2 separate regions of the Homo sapiens genome follow, and region 1 is linked to region 2. Evidence: promoter capture Hi-C in 16 types of primary human blood cells and fetal thymus (Javierre and others, 2016). All regions are on one chromosome and are shown on one strand. Each heading gives the region's core, a stretch centred on a gene start or on the middle of the fragment in contact. The rest is flanking DNA. Distances are from core to core; before and after follow the strand shown. Region 1 holds the start of TOPBP1 (DNA topoisomerase II binding protein 1). Region 2 holds the start of RYK (receptor like tyrosine kinase).

Region 1 (7,442 bases), core at 4,158-6,657, 590 kb before region 2:
GTAATTCCAGCTACTCGGGAGGCTGAGGCATGAAGATTACTTGAGCCCAGGAAATCAAGGTTGCAGTGAGTTGTGATTGTGCCACTGCACTCCAGCGTGGGTGACAGTAAGACCCTGTCCCAAATATATATATGTATTTCTATAGCTCTCTCTTAGAATGCTTTTTTTTTTTTTTTTCCAAAACGAAATCTTGCTCTGTCACCCAGGCTGCAGTGCAGTGGCGTGATGTTGGCTCACTGCAACCTCCACCTCCCTGATTCAAACGATTTAGAATCCTTTTTTTTAAAGACTGTCCACCTATAGTGGAAAAATGTAAGTGATTAAAAAATGAGTGTCCTTTTAAATTAAAACAAAAAATTTCAATTAGCCAGTTTTCAACAAAACAAATTCTACTATATTCAATTTACTTAAAAAATGTACATGTATACATATATACACACTGTGGTTGTATACTGAACTTTGTTAAAAGTCACGAACAATAAGCGGAAAGTCTTTTAAGCTATCTTCTATGCAGTGAAAAATTAAGAATAAGAGATAGATATATAAATTGATCAATCATCATGAGATCAATATCTACCCTTTTTTCTTTTTCCAGACTTGTACAAGATATGGTTACATCAGACATAACCATATTATAAACTGGATGTTCGGCTCTTGGGACACATCGCTGGTGGTGCATACAAAATATGACTACTTGAGGACCAACAATTCTGCAGCCAAGCTACAAAAAAGAGAAAAGTTTAAATGAGTTAAGAAGGAAAAGACCACCAGTCTTACAAAATTACATTTTGTAACATTCACCAATTCTTTACCAAAGTTGATGACCACTGTAGAGAAATCAGCAAATCATTACAAGAAAAAAATAAAGATGACTATATAATTTCTCAGAGATACTATACATTAAACACTCACACACAAAAGCAAATCAAACAATGCAAGCTATCAAAAGAAATAAACTTCAGGCCAGGCACAGTGGCTCACGCCTGTAATGCCAGCACTTCAGAGGAGGCCGAGCGGGGGTGGATCACCTGAGGTCAGGAGTTCGAGACCAGCCTGGCCAACATGGTGAAACCCCGTCTCTACTAAAAATACAAAAATTAGTCGGGTGCAGTGGCGGGCACCTGCAGTCCCAGTCTCTAGGGAGGCTGAGGCAAGAGAATTGCTTGAACCCAGGAGGCGGAGGTTGCAGTGAGCTGAGATCACGTCACTGCACTCCAGCCTGGGCGACAGAGTGAGACCCTATAACAAAAGAAAAAAAAAAAGAAAAGAAAAGAAATAAACTTCAAAAGCCCCTTTCACTGAAAACTGCCTTACTGCTTACATCTATAAGCCCAATATTTTGGGAGGCTGAGGTGGGAGGATCACTTGAGTGCAGGAGTTCAAGACCAGCCCAGCCTGGCCAACATCGAGAAACCCTTTCTCTACTAAAAATAAAAAAATCAGCCGGGTGTGTATATACATCTGTAATCCCAGCTACTCAGGAGGCTAAGGCACAAGAATCACTTGAACCAAGGAAGCAGAAGTTGCAGTGGGCTGAGCTTGTGCCACTGCACTAAAGCCTGGGCAACAGAACAAGACTCTGTCTCCAAAAAACAAAAACAAAAACAAACAAACAAACAAAAAAAGCCTACTGTAACATAATTAGCCTTTCAATCCTGGTCTTGCCAAACCAAAAGAATTCCAATGTACTCATAAGTTGCATAGTACTTTATAATCCGCAAAGAATGTATGTCCATTAAAGCAAAGATAAACCAAAAAATAGACTACCAAAGGTACACACTAGAAGTCAGCAAACCTTTTTGAGGTGATCAAAGACAACGCCACTAAAAGGGTCACAGATATAAAGTGATCTATCATTCTCCTTTATCTTCAATGCCTCTTCTTCTGTAATAATCTGAAGATATTCTTCTGATTGGAATTCTTTTATGGACTGAAAGAAAAAATAAAATAAGAATGTACCTGAAATTACTCTCCTGTATTTAGGTCCTATTCAAATTCCATCTCAAATCCAGCCTTTTCCCTATTGAAAGCCACCATCACATCTCACTTAGACCTCTGCAGAAGGCTCCCAAGTGGTCTCTTTTTCCCTTCCTTGCCCTAAATCTGTTCTCTACACAGCAGCTAATAATCTTTTCAAAAACACAAGTCAGATCATGTCACTATCTGCTCAAAACCTAATGTCTTCACACCACACCCAGAATAAAATCCACATTTCTTACTACAGCCTTCAAGACAACACAGTCTGGTTTCCTGCCTATCTTTCCACCTTTACCTCCTACTTCTCATCTCTCTTGCTTATTCTATTCCAGCCACTCCCGCTTTCTTGCCAACCCTGGAACAAGCCAACCATAACCTCATTTAGAGGCTCTGCTCTTGATCTTGCAGCACAGAATACTTTTTTTCCAGGTTTTCACCTGACTTAATCCCCCACTTCAATCAGGTCTGCTTAAATGTCACCTCCCCAGAGATGCCCATCCTAATCAGGCTTTCTCAAATACCCTTCCTCTACCCTTCTAGTCTATTCTATTTAAAAATACGTATTTATATATATATATATAGTTTTTGTCTCTCTCCCCTGGAAGTTTCTATGTATCTTGTTTGCTACTATATCCTGACACCCAGTAAGCACTCAGAAATGTTCTGAACCAATTTTGAGGTCCTTATGTTAAATACAGTAATCCCTTTAAAACTGTAAGTCAGATCATGTTTACTCTTCTGATTATCAACCCTCCAATGGCTCTCCACTGAGAGAAAAATGGCCCACAAGGCCCTACATGACCTCTTTACCATTATTCTCTAACGCATTCCTTAGTACTCTTCCCCCATCCCTCACTCACTACACAACAGTACACTAAACTTGGATAGAGACTACAGGCACTTTCCCAGGGGCTGTATAAGGTTGCTCTCTCTGCCTGCAACATTCTTCTCCAGATATCTGCAAGGCTATCTCACCTCCTTCACGTTTACTCAATATCTTTTTCTTCATAAAGCCTACCCTGATCACACCCTATTTAAGATTATAACCCCCTTCTCTTCCCACCCCAAGAAACATCCTCTGGAACCCCTTAACGTGTTTTGCTTTTTTCTCTTCCTAATTTATCATGTCTGATTAGTGTCTATGTCCTCCTGCTAGAATGTAAGCTCTGAAAGAACAGAAATCTTTGCCTGTTCTCATCACTGATAAATCCCAAGTACTAGAGAAGTGCCTATCAAATCATGAACACTTCAATAAATACTTGCTGAATGAATGAAGTTTAAAAAAATCTGCTACAAATGCTTCTCAAACTTTAATGCACACTGAAGATCTTGTTAGAAATGCAGATTCTAAGTCTGGGTTGGAGGCCAAGATTCTGCATTTCGAAGAAACTTCCAGGCCATGCTGATACTGCTGGGTTCTGTGAGAAGCAAGGATCTACATCACCCCTACTATCATCCAATTATTATACTGTACATAATAAAACATAATTTTTAACAATTAACCAAAAAATTTTCAAGTATGACCAGTACACAACTGACTCAAATTTCTACAGCACGCAAAGGACCACTCTGGCTAGGAGACAAATGAAAGCAACTTAATTTCCAAGAACTGTAGGTCAGCCATATTAAACAGCAATGTGATAATAGACTTCCAGCCCCCCGAAATACATAATGATGTACTTAGATCAATTCAAAAATATGTGATAATGATATATCTGTATTAATGTAGACTATAAAATTATTATGAAAGTGAAATATCTACTTCTAAGACATAAAGCCCAACAAATCAAAAACACTTAAAAACAAGAAAATGAATTCACGGTATTAAGATGTTTTCAACTCTTACCTCGAGAGCTTTAAAAAAACATTTGGAATTGTCTGAAGACTTTAAAAACTTCACAAAAAACGGTTCTTTGTCATTTCTGGACATTTCTGAACTGTCAAAATAAAGGAACCATTAACAAGAACAAAACCACATTAGATAAAAAGTTGCATGTTTAACCTACCTATTTTTCTGTGCAGACAAGAATGCCTAAAGACAGACATTCTGGCTCTGCCCGTGAATTCGTCAACGGCATTTCTAAGAAATCCTGGAACTTGGACAAAGCCAAGGTAAAAGATGACAACACCAATCCTTGCAAATCAGACAGCAAAATTAACCCGAATTGAATACACTGAGGAAGGCCCTGCTATGAAGGCTCTAAGCCCTTTAGGCCAATGGACATTCAATTGCACTTGTTTTAAGGATACACAGAGTGTATCTGTCCCTGCGGATACCCACGGCCTGCGAGGTACGTTCATCCCTCAGTAAACAGATTTTAAATATAAACATGGAAGCCAGTTAGCATGGTCTTGGCCCTGCATAAGGCTAGATGCTCCGGTTCCCATCTCCAGGAAAAGGCCTGGCTCTGGGATCACGGAAGCCACGTCCTCTCGGCGTCAAAGGCCCACCCGCCGGCTCCAGGGCCAGTTACCAGGACAGGAAAAGAGGGTCCTGAAGGCCACAGAAGGCATCGCGAACCCCAGTTGGGGCTGGGGAGGAGCTGTGTCCCCACTCCGCGCCTCACTTACCTCGTTGGAGCCTCGGGGTCTCCGGGCGGCGAGTCGGGGGACGCGCTGGCCGCAGGGCGGTGGCTGGGGTCGGGCGCCAGCCCGGCGCACAGCCCCCTCCCCCGACTCGGCGCCGCCCCTACCCCAAAGCAAACGCTGGAGAACCCGGAAATTGCCCAGAACGGGAACCGACTTTCGCGCCAACCGCGCGGCCGCGCTTGCCTTTTCCGGTGGAAGTGACGCCATCGGCAGCTGCAGCAGAAGAGCGGAAATGTCAAACGTGGAGGTGAGCAGTCTGTGGGCGGTGGGGCTTCAGGGAAAGCTTGGGCCGGACCCTTTGGGTTTAGGGCTTTGCTGGGCGGGCCTAGTCTCCGCTGCGAGTAGGCCCAGCGCCGTCGGTTCAAGAGGTAGGACCACAGGCCAGGAATACTCCTTTACTGTTAAAAAAGCCAGGGAAAGAAAGGATTTCCTCAATAGATATTTATTTTACACCTGTCTTATACCAGGCATGCACGGGAAAAGGTATTATCCAAAACAATTCCGTGAGGCAAATAGTGGTAGTTCCATTTTGTAGATGTAAAAACGGAGGAAGTTAAATGATGGGTTCAAGGGCACACGGCTAGTAGGTGGTAGAATTAATACTGCATCCAGGTCTTCTGACTACGGACTGGGTGGTTTCCCTCCAACACAGCAGGAATAGAATCACCGCCTAACACAGCCACAAGATGGCAAGGGAAGAAAGGATGACTTATTACACAGCTAATGCAAAGGGATCTTTGTCAAGATCTTCAATGGTCTCCCCTCCTCCTCCCCTTCAGTGGACATCGCCGTTCTCTTTCTCTGCATCTGCCTCAGTACTGGGGAGATTCTGGGACTGAACCTAAGATTCAGATGGCAGAGAGCAAAGGGAGAGGGGATAAGATGGGCCTGCAAACCTTAGTGATAACCAGCGGAAAACTGATTCGTTGTTGCTTCTTTTCATTTTATTCTTTTTTAAAAAAATTTTTTCTTATTTTATAAAATCTAGCCACTATACTAATGAGGATCATTTTATTATTCACTGCTGAGATTGAGAAAATGACTTTGGATTTACTAATGTAAAAGTATAATGCCATGTCCCTTGATTGTTTTTGTTTTTCTTTTCTTTTTAGAGCCTAAAGATAGTAATGAGCAGCTTGAGTCTTAAGTTTTTGAATACACCGATGGAAGGTGACAAAGATTCTTTGCTTGGCCAAACTTTAGTCAGACTCCTCAACCTTCTCGTAGGTTTATCTGTGCATTTCCTTGGAAAATCCAGTTAGAACCCTCTACCCTCAATATCTGATCAGGTTCCTCATCCTCTACCATCCAAGGTGATGTCTGATCACCTTGACCTATTTTCAGCAAGAAACCCCTTTACTCCTGAAGTTCCTTCTTAGTAATTTTTTATCCAGTGACCCCAAGCTTTTTGTTCCTTGGCTATAAATTCCCACTTGCCCATGGTGTATTTAGAGTTGAGCCCACTCTCTCTCTCCTAATTCAGAATCCCATTGCCATGGTTGCTATACCTATCCTGATGGTCCGGAATAAAATCTGTCTTACTGTGCTTTAATAAATATCATTAATTTTTTTTTTTTTTTTTTTTTACCAGAAATGAGTCAGAATCAATTAACACTGGGGCTCAAAGGTAAAGGCCTATTGCTGGGGGAAGGGTGAAGAAAGCCTTAAAAGCAAAAAAACAAAAATCACTAGAGGTGGGAAAAAAAAGAAACCACAGTTAATTGTTAAGGTGCAAATCTGACCTGAATCTGTAATAACAATTAATATTTCTAGGGCACTTTACAGTTAACATGGGACTCCTGCTCACACTATTCCCGTTTACTCTTTTCAGCAACCCTATAATAGATGGGTATCATTGTCTCATGTTATGGAGATGGGGAAAGTGAAGTTCAGGGACTGTGTCACTTGCCCGTGCCTTTCCTGACACACCACACTGCTCCTGGGCACGTGCTGTCTGCCCATCTCTGTGTGAAGTTCCACACCGGGGAGGGAGCCCATTCCTGGCATTTCTGGGCCAAGTAGAGACCTCACAAGAGAAGGAGATTCATAGATGCTGCTAATGAAGATGAAGAAAATGCACCCTTTAGCTTTTACCCAGCCGGAACTTGATACCAGAGGAGTGACCTGTCTTTAGAGTAAGAGTTCACCACTAGGGGGCAAGTTCTCCCATCTTGTGTCTCCAGATAAGCAGAGAGGGTCTGTCTCTAGTATCTACTCCTGGAAAATGGATAAAGCAGTGGTTCTGATGTGTAGTGTCTGGACCAGCAGCATCGGCATCTCCTGGGAATTTTGGGGGAATGAAAATTCTTGGGCTCCACTTCAGACTTATTAAGTCAGGAGCACTTGGGGTAGGGCTAGCAATCTGTGCCCTTCAGGTGATTTTGGTACACATTAAAGTTTGCTTGAACAGCAGTCCTTCAGGAAAGGGTGAAATGGTTAGTATCCACGGAGGATTGATTCCAAGGCCCCCTACAGATAACAAAATCTGAAGATGCTCAAGTACCTTATATATAACCTGTGCACATACTCCCATGTACTTTTTTTTTCTTTTTTTTGAGACGGAGTCTCACTGTTGTCCAGGTTGGAGTGCAGTTGGCACAATGTCTGCTCACTGCAACCTCCACCCCCGGGGTTCAAGCGATTCTCCTGCCTCAGCCTCCCAAGTAGCTGGGGTTACAGGCGTCTGCCATCGCACCCGGCTAATTTTTGCATTTTTAGTGGAGACGGGTTTCACCTTGTTGGCCAGGCTGGTCTTTAACTCCTGACCTCGTGATCCACCTGACTCAGCCTCCCAAAGTGCTGGGATTACAGGCATAAGTCACTGCGCCTGGCCACTCCCATGTACTTTAAATAATCACTAGGTTACTTATAATACC
Region 2 (7,172 bases), core at 3,995-6,494:
GTTCCAGCAGGAAACCCAAAGTTTTTTCTGAAGAAACTGAATCACAGTGACAGGAGAACTGTAGCCAGAAGTCGAAGGCTACAGCCTCCATCCCTCCCTCAGCCAGGTAACCCAAACCCTGGCAGCTGGCATATCACCAAGCATACCAGAGGCAGGAGATGATGATTTCTTCATTGTGAACACTGGCCCCAAACGAGATGTAAAGGTGTTGATATTCGGGGCAGACTCCCAATGAAAAGTCCACCTGAACTCACAAGTCACTAGACCACCAATACACACATGTTCTCTCCTCTGCAATCAGCTCCTCAGGATCTTTTTCTTCATTATAGACAGTCAAGGATCACCAGATATTTATGACTTAAACAAACAAAGAAAAGATCCCTGAAATGAATAACCACACTGGAGGAAACAGAAGAAATATTAAAAATATATTAAACACAAAGAAAAAATAAAAATACACACATCAGAGATAAGTAAAGATAATACATCCATAAAATAAGATGCAATGAAATGGAAACAGAAAAAGATTCTAAAATTTAAAAACATGATCATTAAAATTGAGAACCATTCCCCCCCTCCCACTCCTTCCAGTACAAAGAAATACGTAAGACATGAGATTAGTTAAGAAAATTTAAAGATCATTTGTAGTGGGTTCAACAACCAAACCAACAGACATCTCAGAAAGAAATACACACACACACACACACACACACACACACACACACACACAGAGAGAGAGAAAATAAAGGGTGGGAATTATTAAAAAAAAAAAAAGCATTTCTGAAAACTAAAAAGAGTCTCTAGATTGAAAGGACCCACTAAGGTAATACAAGAAAGAAAAGGAAGAAAGGAAGGAAAGAACCAACCAACCAACCACACAAAAACTTATAAAACTTCAGAATGCCAGAGAAAAAGAACCTGAGCTTCAAAAAAACAGAAAAAAAGAGGCATCAGAATGGCTTTGGACTTTTCATCAAAAACCCTTAAGACAGAAAACTGTGAATATGCCATCAAAATTATGAAAAAATGTATTTCTACTTAATATTTTAAATTCAGCCAAACCATCTATAAAGTATGAGGACAGGATAGATACATTCAGACATTCAAGGCCTCAAGTAATTTATCTCCCATCATTCCTTCCTAAGAAGCTACTGAGGATACATACATAGTAGCAAAATGAAGCAAACCAAGAAAAAGGAAGACAGGAGATCTAAAAAACAGAGGTTCCAAGACAGGAAAGAAGTAACAGGAAGTCCCAGAAAAAATAATCGTACTATCTAGATTGGAGCAAGAGGATGGAATGCTCCAGACCAAGAAGTCTCTAAGAGGAAACCAAGTGGCACTGATAGATGATTTAATGTGCTACCTGGAAAAAAAAAAAATCAAAAGGCATTTAACATACTTCTTGGAGTAGTTGAGGGAACACAGCCAAAGATAAATAGGTAACGAATCAAAACGCAATTTTGATAAAATGCAATTATTTGCTGTGGGAAAAACAAAAATGTATAAAAAAAATCATAAGTCACTATTTAGCAATACCTGTGTACACAATAATGTAAATACTGCTATTTTTACAAAAAAGTTACGTAACTACATTGGAGGATTTAAGAGAGAAATGAGAAAGAGCTCAGTTATGATACTAGAAAGTCAAAGACTTATTCTACATTGATTTAGAATGACGAAAGTAAAAAAAGAGGAAGAAAAAATAAACAGACCTAGCTGAGGTAGTAGCTACCCCTGGAAAGTAGAGCCTGAGGGATAAAAAAGACAAAAGCAAGAGCCTGCTGTGTTTGTCAAAAGTCTTTTAAGCCGGATGCGGTGGCTCACACCTGTAATCCCAGCACTTTGGGAGGCTGAGGTGGGTGATCACCTGAGGTTGGGGGTTTGAGAACAGCCTGACCAACATGGAGAAACCTCGTCTCTACTAAAAATACAAAATTAGCTGGGCATGGTAATGCGTGCCTGTAATCCCAACTACTGGGGAGGCTGAGGCAGGAGAATCGCTTGAACCTTGGAGGCAGAGGTTGCGGTGAGCTAAGATCATACCATTGGACTCCAGCCTGGGCAACAAGAGCGAAACTCCGTCTCAAAAAAAAAAAAAAGCCTTTTGGTTCTCTTAAAACTATATGCATATATTAACTGGATTAAAACAATTTATTCTCATATCAAGGGTAATTAGTTCAATTTATAAAGTTGTCACTATCAACTTCATTTATAAGTTTCTTACTTGGAACTCTAAACTGTCTTAAAAATATTATAAAATAATGGTTCGTTTCCTATGCCAGCGTTCAGAAGGCACAAAATCTGTAGTGATTCTAAAATACGGTGCAAAGCTACTATTCCAAGAAGCCTTAAGTACCATAACAGCTTCTGTGAGAGACTGCATTCTGAGAATTCGGAGTGCCTTGTACACATCTCAGTACACATCTCAGTCCTACCCACTTGGCTCTTCCCTACCTGGAGGAGCCAAGGAATTATTTTAAAGGTAGAATGTATGAGGGAGATGGGAAGGGATGGAAACAACGAACCTGAATCTGGCAGGATGGAGTGACTAGAGATCCTCTGTAACAGGTCAACCCTATTTGCACTAGAGAAAATACTACTAGAAGTCTCTCTCGCCCCCGGGGATAGACAAGGGAGTTAATTGAAACAATGCTTCCTACCCTCCCAGCAACAGCATTTCTGGGCATAAATTGGATGCTCATCAAACAGGAGCTTCCTCTGCTGCAAATACTGCTAAGAAAATTAGTTCCAGGCCAACCTTTGAATAAGGTAACAAATATATAACTCAAGTGCTAATTAGCAATGATTTATTTTCCACCATGACATAATCAAACTTCTACAGACAAAATCTTCATTTCATTCGATAAAACTTTGCAGCCTATGTCAACACTGTTTCATTTTTTTCAAAAATATGAACTAGGCCAGGTGCGGTGGCTCACACCTGTAATCCCAGCACTTTGGGAGGCCGAGGCGGGCAGATCACGAGCTCAGGAGTTCAAGACCAGCCTGACCAACATGGTGAAACCCTGTCTCTACTAAAAATACAAAAAATAGCCAGAAGTGGTCGCTACTTGGGAGGCTGAGGCAGGTGAATCACCTGAACCCAGGAAGCAGAGATTGCAGTGAGCCGAGATCACGCCACTGCACTCCAGCCTGGGTGACAAGAGCGAGACTCCGTCTAAAAAAAAATTAACTGTGTGACCTTGAGCAAGTTACTTTAAAACCCCACTTTCCTCATCTCTACAATAGGCATAATGCCACCTACCTCACTGGGCCCCGAGAAAATTAGAAGAAATTATGTGTATAAAGCATGTAGGGGCAGGTATATGGCAGGAATTCAATGTCAGTCCCTGGTTGTCTTCTGTCTCCTACCTACACCTCTGACTTTGTTTACCCATGTAAACAAAGTCACAAGCTATATAAGTGCTTTTAACCAAAAAGCCTTTACAAAACCATGCATAATACGTTAATATTTCTAAAATTAATGTGATATGAGTCGTCTTGTATTATTTTTCCTAAATCTTAGTCTTGTGTTCCAAGTACTACCCCAAGTAGAGTTTTAATTCAGCTAAACTACATTCAGCTAACTCAGCTAGACTAAGAAGGATTAAGAATGAGCACGACTTCATAAAAAGAGCATTCTTCTTTGGCTAAAAACTGCAAATCCGTACATGTAATGTCTAAAGAGTCTGCTTTCAGTAATTCCATTTCTACACTGAGTCAATCTCAACACACCTCAACAAAGTCTTATTACTTAAAAAAAAATAGAATACTGACAAATAATGGATGCAATAGAGAATAATTTTTCCCCTCAAACACTCAGAAGCACCACCTTCAGATGAAATAAAGATACTGCCATAATAACAAAAGAATGCAAACGTCTAGGTACCAAGGACTTCCTTTTTGGGGGGTCGTTCCTGTCAGATCTTCCTCTAAGGGGTCATTTCCAGAATCCACAAAGTCCTAACATAAGACCCCAGCAATTTTTCAAATTAATTCCCCAAACAACAAAGCTAAGCAAGTAAATGGAACCACAAACCGACCCAAGACTAAGTTCTTGTTTCCCTTCAAGATACTCAAAAGTAGGAGAGTGGCCCAGAAGTACAGAGTCAGTCCAAACTCCCAACACACCCAATGCAAAAACCAAAAAGGTATTGAAACTAAAAAGGTCTGCTACCTGGCGATTCATTCACTAAAAATATGCTTAGAATCTAAGCATATGCTCCAAATCTACGTCCCAAGAGTTGGAGGCTGCCACGAACATTTGGTGCCCTTATAACCTCCCCTTCTTTCTCTCTCGTTTTTTTTTTTTTTTTTTTTTTTTTTGTAAAAGGGTAAGCACAGAGCGTGGCCTCTACTGGAGCATCAAAACCACAGCAAAGGGTTTGCAAGTTCAGTCTAAAACGTGAATTTCGAGATATTCAAAATCGAGGGCCCTAGAGTGACACACATAGAAAGCGTCAAAAAAACTTCGTGCAGCAAGGAAAAAAAGTTGTAAGGGTGACTGACTCTTCTAGGGAGAAGGGCTAAGGAGGCAGTGAGGAGGATGGGATGGGGTGAATCTGGGTCTATCGCGGCGGGGCAGCGAGGGCGGCACGAAGGCTGACCCAGAGCTGGGGACCGGGCAGGGACCACACCTCCCAGCCAGCACGGCAGGCAGAGACCGGGCCGCGAGGCGAATCCGGGCGCGGGGGGCGGGGAGGGTACTCGCCCGAGGTCCACGGCTCGCAGACTGATCCGCCGGCGGCCGGAAGCTGCCCCAGCCGGCCCGACCTGCCCGCCCCGGCCTCGGCGGCCCCACTCACCGATCAGCCGGCGCACCTCGTCCTCGCTCAGGTAGAGACTCACGCTGGGCCCCGCGGAAGCCGACTGCAGCTCCGGGGGCCGCGGGGCGGGGGCGGCGGCAGCGCCAGGCGCGGGCAGCAGCGGCAACAGCGCAAGCAGAAGCAGCAGCGGCGGCGGCGGCGGGGCCCTCAGGCCGCGGGCCCCCGGGAGGCAACTCCGGCCCGGCCGCCCCAGCCGCGCCGCCCCACGCATGGCCGCCGCCGCCGCCGCCGAAGAGGAGCGTCGGCCGCCCGCCGCACCGCCGCCCACCCCCGGCCCCGAGCCGCTCACAGCCCCGAGCCGGGGGCGGCTGCCCAGCTCATCGCACCGCCGGCCCGTGGCAGCCAGCAGTGGCTTCAGACCTCCGGAGCGCGCCGCCGCCGCCGCCTCCTCGCTGCATCGTCCGGAGTTGGGGGCTGCCCGCGGGACGCGCCCGTGCGCGCCGCCGCCTCCCCGGGAGCGCGCACGCACCTTTCGCTCTGGGCGGGCCGGCCTGGGCAACGCGCTGGGGTTTTAAAGTGCCTCGGCGGGCGAAGGGCTCGGGTCACCCTCTCCGCAAGAGCCGGTCCCCGCCCCACGCGGTCACTGCGTCTAATGTTTGCTTGTCTATTGTCTGTAACCCTCCTTTCCCGACGGACGGGCCAGGCTGGAGCCACCGGCCGCGCCTGCAGCTCAGTGGGCGCCCCAGGTCCCCGGAAACGCCTGGATGCGGCCGTTCTGGTTGCGAAAAAGCAGCATGCTTTCCTGTTTAGTGGGAAAACTCAAATAAATAGAAATCATCCTTTATCTTACCATCGGTGATCAACTTTATCGTTTCCGTATCTATTATTAGAATTTATACTACATATATTTGTTTTCCAGAAAGATCTTAGCACGCTTTACTAACCCTATTTTTACGTTACAAAATTTTATTTATTTTTATATTTTTATTTATTTATTTTGAGACGAAGTCTTGCTCCGTCACCCAAGCTGGAGTGCACTGGCACGATCTCGGCTCACTGCAACCTCTGCCTCCTAGGTTCAAGCCATTCTCCTGCCTCAGCCTCCCGAGTAGCTGGGATTACAGGCGCCCGCAACCATGCCCGACTAATTTTTTTGTATTTTTAGTAGAGACGGGGTTTCACCATGTTGGCCGGGTTGGTCTCGAACTCCTGACCTCACGTGATCAACTGACCTCGGCCTCCCAAAGTGCTGGGATTACAGGTGTAAGCCACCGCGCCCTGCCAAATTGTTATTTTTTTTATAATCGTTCTGCATCACTATAATCAACCTGCCTTTGGGGTTGTTAATCTGTGGTCCATACCAGGCTTCGACAGCCTTCCAATAATATGAAACTGTGTGCAAAAGTGTATGTGTCTCCGTGCGTATTTGTGTCCACGTCCATGTTTCTGTGTGTTGTGTGTATGCTTGATTGCACACAGAGAGGTGGTATGTCATCATTTGTTCTAGGGAGTCCTTGTGCCCTCAAAGAGGTTAAGAACTGCAGATAGACCTCGTGTACTTAAAGGCGGTGGAGCCAGCCAGTGCATGGACTTCCGGGCCTCCTGATGTATTTTTGTGAGCCGCCCACCATCGCGGTCAAACTTGCACCAGTGCCCCCTCTCTTGGTGAGGCTCCAAGGGCCCCTGCCCTGTCCTGGGACACCTCGTCCCTGCGGACAGGCCCCCGTCCTGACCCCAAGGCTCTCGCGGGGCCGTGCCTCGGGGAGCAGCTGCTCTGACAGCTAGGCCTGGCTTCGGGGCACAGTTGCTCCATCGCAGTGAGGCCCTGGGAAGCGGTTATTTTTATCCTCAGGGAAGGGTAGGGAAAAGGAGAGGCTGATAAGGAGGGAAGTGCTGGAACTTGATTTTCTCCCTCCCTAGCAAGATACACGGATTCCATTTAGAGATAGGCTGGCCTCAATTTGTCAAGCTTCAGCGCCTCAGCACAAAATCTTACACCCTTCATCCTGCCGGAGGAGGCTGAGAAGAGGAAGAGGGGAGGAAAAGTGCTCCATCAGAGAAGGCTTTTAAGCCACAAAAGTCAGCAAAAATACTTCTGTTGGGACAGCCACTGCTACCAGGGTTCTGCCAGGAAGGGCTGGAGGCTCAAAACATGTTGTGTGAACAGGAATCTCAATTCAGATGGGAAGCATTTTTTTAAAGGATGGCATATTCTTTGCACTTTTAAAAAAGCTCACAGTCCTCAAAGAATGAAACTCCTAGCTTCTCGAGGTTCTTTAATTACTAGGTCTTGTCAGTGACTTCTTCAGGCGGCCTATGATGTAAACAGCAGAGAGCTCCCACTCAGGCCTGGCTGGGTTCTGGTACTTGTTAATCCTGTGGTCTTGGGAAAATTAAACTCTC

What was found. Contacts are between HindIII fragments. The CHiCAGO score rates a contact against its expected background, and 5 or more counts as called.
Region 1: a contact is called between a fragment that was not itself captured here and the fragment with the promoter of RYK in region 2, in 5 of 17 cell types (activated CD4 T cells, naive CD4 T cells, non-activated CD4 T cells and 2 more). The highest score is 9.2, in activated CD4 T cells.

Annotation. Positions count from the first base shown.
Region 1 is chr3:133,657,221-133,664,662 of GRCh38, forward strand. TOPBP1 (DNA topoisomerase II binding protein 1) reads right to left here and starts at 4,721. Exons shown (of 28, transcript NM_007027.4): 1 at 4,549-4,721; 2 at 3,824-3,914; 3 at 1,796-1,930; 4 at 578-721. The coding sequence starts at 3,907. It overlaps LOC124909487, which reads left to right and starts at 4,006. Exons shown (of 3, transcript XM_047449438.1): 1 at 4,006-4,126; 2 at 4,293-4,813; 3 at 5,679-6,118. The coding sequence starts at 4,006. The coding sequence ends at 5,828. It also overlaps a transcript of TF not described here. RefSeq lists a silencer at 4,508-4,677 and an enhancer at 5,078-5,147. The HindIII fragment of the contact is 1,121 bases long and covers 4,848-5,968 here.
Region 2 is chr3:134,245,615-134,252,786 of GRCh38, forward strand. RYK (receptor like tyrosine kinase) reads right to left here and starts at 5,245. Exons shown (of 15, transcript NM_002958.4): 1 at 4,809-5,245. The coding sequence starts at 5,040. RefSeq lists an enhancer at 4,486-5,264 and a silencer at 4,600-5,419. The HindIII fragment of the contact is 6,752 bases long and covers 1-6,736 here.